Regions from separate parts of the Homo sapiens genome. Here region 2 is linked to region 1. Evidence: promoter capture Hi-C in 16 types of primary human blood cells and fetal thymus (Javierre and others, 2016). All regions are on one chromosome and are shown on one strand. The core of a region is centred on a gene start or on the middle of the fragment in contact, and the rest is flanking DNA. Distances in the headings are between cores, read along the strand shown.

Evidence for each region. The method cuts DNA at HindIII sites, captures the fragments that hold promoters and counts their contacts. A CHiCAGO score of 5 or more calls a contact.
Region 2: a contact is called between a fragment that was not itself captured here and the fragment with the promoter of SLC24A2 in region 1, in 2 of 17 cell types (naive B cells and activated CD4 T cells). The highest score is 7.7, in naive B cells.

The regions. Positions count from the first base shown.
Region 1 is chr9:19,787,541-19,790,555 of GRCh38, reverse strand. SLC24A2 (solute carrier family 24 member 2) reads left to right here and starts at 1,519. Exons shown (of 11, transcript NM_020344.4): 1 at 1,519-1,671. LOC124902128 (a long non-coding RNA gene) reads right to left here and starts at 1,397. Exons shown (of 2, transcript XR_007061432.1): 1 at 1,278-1,397. RefSeq lists an enhancer at 1,956-2,603. The HindIII fragment of the contact is 3,775 bases long and covers 714-3,015 here.
Region 2 is chr9:21,123,653-21,126,629 of GRCh38, reverse strand. No RefSeq gene overlaps it. Among named protein-coding and RNA genes, the nearest start is that of IFNW1, 17 kb to the left of the region's middle. The HindIII fragment of the contact is 754 bases long and covers 1,296-2,049 here.

The DNA.
Region 1 (3,015 bases), core at 270-2,769:
GATTATCTTTTTTTTTTTTTTTTTTGATGCTCAAATTAGCCCGTCTTTGGTCAGTGACAGCCTATTTGAATTGTCCCCTTCTTGACACAACCCTAGTGGTAGTTGATAGTTTTCTTGCTTTCTGAAAATATTTACAGATAAAATGATATGATGCTCTGGGATTTGCTTCAAAATGATGACATAGGAAAAAGGGGTATAGATGAAATATGACTGTCCATGAGTTCATAATTGTTCAAGCTGGTTATGGCCCCATGGAGATTCATTATACTACTTTCTTACATTTGTATATGTTTGAAATTTTCTAAATTAAAAGTTAAAGATAAAAAAATTCAGTCAGGCACCTATAGTCTGCAAGCACTTGGGAGTCTGAGGCTGGAGGATGGCTAGAGCCCAGGAATTCAAGACAAGCTTGGGCAACATAGCAAGATTCAGTCTCGAAAGGAGAAAGAAAAAGAAAAGTTGAGTCTTGAATGCCTGGCTTTGATTGGGGGGTGGGGGGAAGAAAAATATTTCTAAGTTCCCTAGGCTTCCCTTTACTTATTGATGAGTAGGCCCAGAGGTCTGACTACAGAGCTGTACTCTAAGTCAGAGGTCATGAGCTCTCAGGATATACCCATTACCCCCATTGTAAGGAGGGCATGAAGAAACCCTCTTGGATGGGGGAGAGAACAGAAGGATGGAGGGTAAGGAGAGGGGAAAATGTGCGAAAAGCTTTCAGAGCTTCACGAGTTGGGTACCTCTTGGCAGCTTTGCTGGTGGTCACAGGGTTGGGTAAAAGGGGTTCCCTCACTACCAATTTGTCTTACCACCGTCTTCCATTCTTTGGCCCAGATTCTAGTCTCTCATCCCCAACAAGCCTGATTCTATTTCTTGTGGTCAAGGGGATCTTGCTTTCCAGATAGGACAGGAAGGAGCACTGGGCTGGACATCCCGAGGCCAAAAGCCGAAGCCTGTCAGTGATTCAAAATGACACGGGGTTTTGGGTCTCACTTTCATCACCCATGAAATGAAAGGTCACCCTGCAAGACTGAAGCCCCTGCAGTGTCCCAAGCATCCAAATCCAACACTCAAGAAACCCTGGACCCCAACAGCCTGTCCTGCAGGCCTCCGTGCCTTTTCATTGAACGTCTTTTCCACCATTACACATCACATCGCCTCCTAAAGAAAAGCGCGACTGCTATCACTTTTTGCAGATAATTGGAGAGGCGGTGCCCAGCATAAGATGACCCCAAAGTTGACAGCACTTTCAGGCTTTGTGAATTAGGCGCGTCACCGACCTGTACGATTTCTCCTCTCTGCCCTTGCTCGCCTGCAAATCCTGACCCCCGTCCACACTGCGGAGAAATCTCCTAAGAGACGGCTGCCAGCGTCGCCTCTGCGCCCAGGAGGCGTGGAGCAAAGGACTCGGGAGCTGAGCGCGCTGCGGCCCCGCTCCCAGCGCACAGCGCACAGCCCAGAGGGAGGGGCCGGCGGGGGCCGGGCAGCGCCAGACTCGGAGCGCCGGGCTCACAGCGGCTCAGTCTCCTCCCGAACCCAGCCCGGCTGGCGAGAGCGGCAGCCAGTGCGAGCCAGAGCCCGGGCCTCAGAGCGGGTAGGCGGAGGGCCGGCGGACTGGAGCGGCGGGCCGCGCTCGGGGGCCCCGCCGTGTGCGCGTCCTCCCATCTTATCCTGGTAAGTGCGGGCGGCTGCGCCCCGCCTGCCGCTGTAGCCGCTGTGGCGGTCGTCCCCGCATCCCGGTTGCGCGCATCCCGTTGCTGCTCTGCAGGCTCACAGGTGGCTCTGCCGTGGATGTGGGCGCCCCAGGCCCCGCTAGGAGTTAGCCAACTCTCTGTGCTCCGGGGCGTGGATTTGGAGCCCCCGCCTCTCCTACCCTTGCTTTTGGCTTGGGATGGGGGGCGTGGGGCAGGGCCTGCCGTCGGGGGAGACGCGCAGAGGGGCGCTTCCATTCCCCAGCCACCTACAAACGACTCAGGGGGATGCGGGCCAAGCGCCTCACCAAATGCAACCCAGCTCCAAGCTCACAGGTGGGGCGTCTGTCCTTTAGATTTATTTTCCTATTAATCCACCAGGGAAAGTTTGGGACCACGCAAGGCAAAGTTGGGGCGCGGCTGGGGGCGAACATTCTCCTACGGAGGCAGCTCCCGGGGAGACGAGCGGTGGGTTTTCAGGGGGAGCGAGGATCGGGCTGGAGATGACTTTGCGCCCGGGGAGTTGAATCTGTCCCTGCTGGTCGCCCGGGCCGGGCATTTACACAATCCCCTGAGTGCTGTGAATCGCTTAATCGTTCCTGCTAAGCGTTGACGTTCGCAGCCACCTGGGAATCTCCGTGATGGGGTCGGGTTATCTCAGGAGTAGCAGCAACTCAGCGGGGTTGATTTGTGCTCTTGCTTTGCTCTGAAAACCTGAGCTCCAGCTAATCTCAGTATTTAAGTGGCGTGTGTTTAATTAGCTTATTTTACACCTGAGATTATCTCAGCGACTGCCTCCAAAATGAAATCGTTGATATGGAAAAGAATAGTCTTTTTAAAGAAAAACTAAAAAGAGAACTCTTCAGAATATCAGCTGTCAAGTCTGGCTATTTTACCCATCTCCTCCGTGGGATAGAGAAAGAAAACTCTGCTTTGGATATCTAACCTATTAAAGTCAGTGGTGGGGCTATTTTGGGCAGATTTTGTGGACAGAGGTATTGCTACAACTTGCGTATTGTTTATGAAATACACATGTGGTCTCTCGAAATAGCCTACTTGTTATTTCACTGCATTGGGAGTTCTTTGACTTACTAAGCTGCCTATTTTAAATATGACTAAAGGTTGTTTTTTTAAAAAAAATATTTAGCTGAAAACAATGTCTAGATGTTTAGGGAAGGCAGCTTGTGCATGTCACCAGAATTTTTTTTTGTAAACTTAAATTTGTAAAGGACTACTTTCCCGCATCTGATAAAGGAGAGACTTTTTATGAAAAATAAGATCTGATATCATTATGTGTGCAGAAAAAAGATCACTAAATTAAAGAATC
Region 2 (2,977 bases), core at 423-2,922, 1.3 Mb before region 1:
ATGTCAAAGAGATATCTGCACTCCCATGTTCATTGGAATACTATTCACAATAGCCAAGATATGGAAACAACCTAAATGTTAATGAAGAGATTAATAGATAAAGAGAATGTATGAATAGTATGTACAAAATGGTATACTATTTGCCATTTTAAAAAGGAAGGAAATTTTGTCATTTGAGACAACATGAATGAATCTGGATGACACTATGTTAACTGATATAAGCAAGGCATAGAAAGACAGTGCATAATCTCACCTACATATGGAATCTTAAAAAGTTAAACTCATAGTAGTAGAGAGTGGAGTGGTGGTTACCAGGGGCTGGAGGAGTGTAGTATTGGGAAGATGTTGGTCAAAGGATACATAATTTCAGTTAGATAGGAGGAATAAGTCCAAAAGATCTATTGAACAATATGGTGACTGCAGTTAGTCATTAGTAACAATGTATTATATTCTTGAAAATTGCCAAGAAAGTACTTTTTAAGCGTTCTTACTACAAAAAACCATAAGTATGTGAGGTAATGCTTATGGTAATGCACTCAATTTGTCCATTCCATAACATATATATTTCAAAACAACATGTTATACCTGGTAAATATAAACTGTTTTGTCAATTTAAAAATAAACTTAAAAGGAAGAAAAAATTCTTTCTTTTGAATTGTAAACATATGTAGATGTTGCCTATGATAAACAGATGCGTTTAAGTATGCTCTCATTGAGAATAATGACAAAACCATGGAAAGAAAGGTTGGTTGACTTTTTATTGAAATAAAATAAAAAACTGGGTATGGCTTGCCTTATGAAATTTTTTCAATATATTGACATAAAAATGCTCTTGGCCAAGGATATGAAAATGAAGCAAAGATGGCAGATAGATAAATGGTGAACAAGCCATTATTTCCCTCAAAAATTGTTATGCTAAATTTGTGCCTACTCAACTAATAATTCTGATTTGATTTGTAATAATGTTGATTTGGTGACTTGAAATATGATACTCTTTTTTAGTATTGTACAAAGGATTAATACATTTTTGAGCTTTGAGCAATAGAATATCCTTATATCTGTCCTAAAAACTGTATTAAAAACATAACGGACATTCAATGGGGATCAAGAACAAACAAAATTATGGCACTTCACACACAAACTAAAGATGTTTATCAAATATTAATGATATAATATTAAATGACATAGTACATTGTGCTGAAATCTAAAGCATCTTGGCACAAAGAGACTGCACATGTTTATGCAAATTAATTTGGTGGGATATTTTGAACCAAGTAGGAAAAAATAAGAAAGCTTTATTTAAAAAGAAAAGTCTTTATATAAAGCAGCTGGCTTCATAGAAGACCTACCCTTTTGTTTACAACAAATGAAAGTAACTTTGAGAGTATGTTTGATAAATGTAAAATGCTAGTAAGAGATACGAATACACTTCCCAAATGTGAAAATAAATTCGAAAAATGTTAAGCAATTAGAAATGGAGACATCACTGGATTAAAGTATCAATTCTTACATGATCTAGGGATATTATTTAAAATAGGGGTTTATTCACATCTTAATTTCAACTCTGAAATGGAGATACGAAAATTTAAACTAAGCATCTTCAGATGTTAAATATTTAAGGGAAGCAATTTTTCAATGAATACATCTGATTTGCAAAAAAGTAGCTAGTAACTTGGCTCTTAAATATTCTGACCATTTACATTCTGTAGAAATTTCATTTTAAATGGTTTTAAGCATGATTCAACATCAGTAATCTGAAATGCAAAACCAGTTTCATGTTTAGATCTTCTGAAATGATTCGTGAATTTGGTTTAGTGTAATTGAATTCATATTTGGAAGTGGTCTTGAAAATTTTATAGAAAAGACAAGATTAAAAACCACATGATTATTTCAATTGAAGCAGAAAAAGGATTCAACAAAATTAAACATCCTTTTTAGACAAAAACTCCTAATAGCTTAGGTATTGGAGTAAACATCCTCAACATAATAAAGGCCATTTGTGAGAAAGTCAGAGCTAACATCAAAATCAATGGGGGGAAAAATAAAGCTTTTTGTCTAAGATCAGTACAAAGCAAGGAAGTTCACTCACGCTACCTTTATTCAATGTAGTACTAGAAGTCCTACCAGAGAAATCAGATCAAAAAAAAAGGAAGAAGAAGAAGAAGAAGAAGAAGAAGAAGAAGAAGAAGAAGAAGAAGAAGAAGAAGAAGAAGAAGAAGAAGAAGAAGAAGAAGAAGAAGAAGAGAAAGAGGAAGAGGAAGAGGAAGAAGAAGACGAAGACGAAGACGAAGAAGAAGAAGAAGAAGAAGAAGAAGAAGAAGAAGAAGAAGAAGAAGAGGAAGAAGAAGAAGAAGAAGAAGAAATAAAAGGCATCCAAAGGGGAAAGGAAGAAGTTATCTCTAATTGTAGATGACATGATTCTGTATGTAGAAAACGCCAAGGACTCCACCAAAACGGTTAGAACTAAGAAATAAATTTGGTTAAGTTGTAGGAGACAAAATCAATGTAATGAAAATCACTTGCATTTATATACACAAATAACTTAGCTGAAAAAATTCAAGAAAATAATCTAATTTATAATAGCATTAAAAATACTTAGGAATAAATTTTACCAAAGAGGAGATAGACCTATACACTAAAAACTATAAAACATTAATGCAAGAAATTGAAGAATACACAAATCAATGGAAAGTAATCCTGTGTTCACACATTGAAAGAACTGAGGTTTTTAAAGTGGCCATACTACACATATGTTGTATATTTACAGATTCAACATAATCCCTATCAAAATCTCAGTGATGTTCTTCACAAAAATAGGAAAAATAATCCTAAAATTTGTATGGAACAACAGAAGACCTCGAATAGCCAAAGCAATTCTCTTAAAATATCCTGTAAAAGTTGTATTCATAAATATATTGCAGTCCATGCATATAATAAGATCATAAGCAACAATAAAAATCAAGAACTACAACTGTTT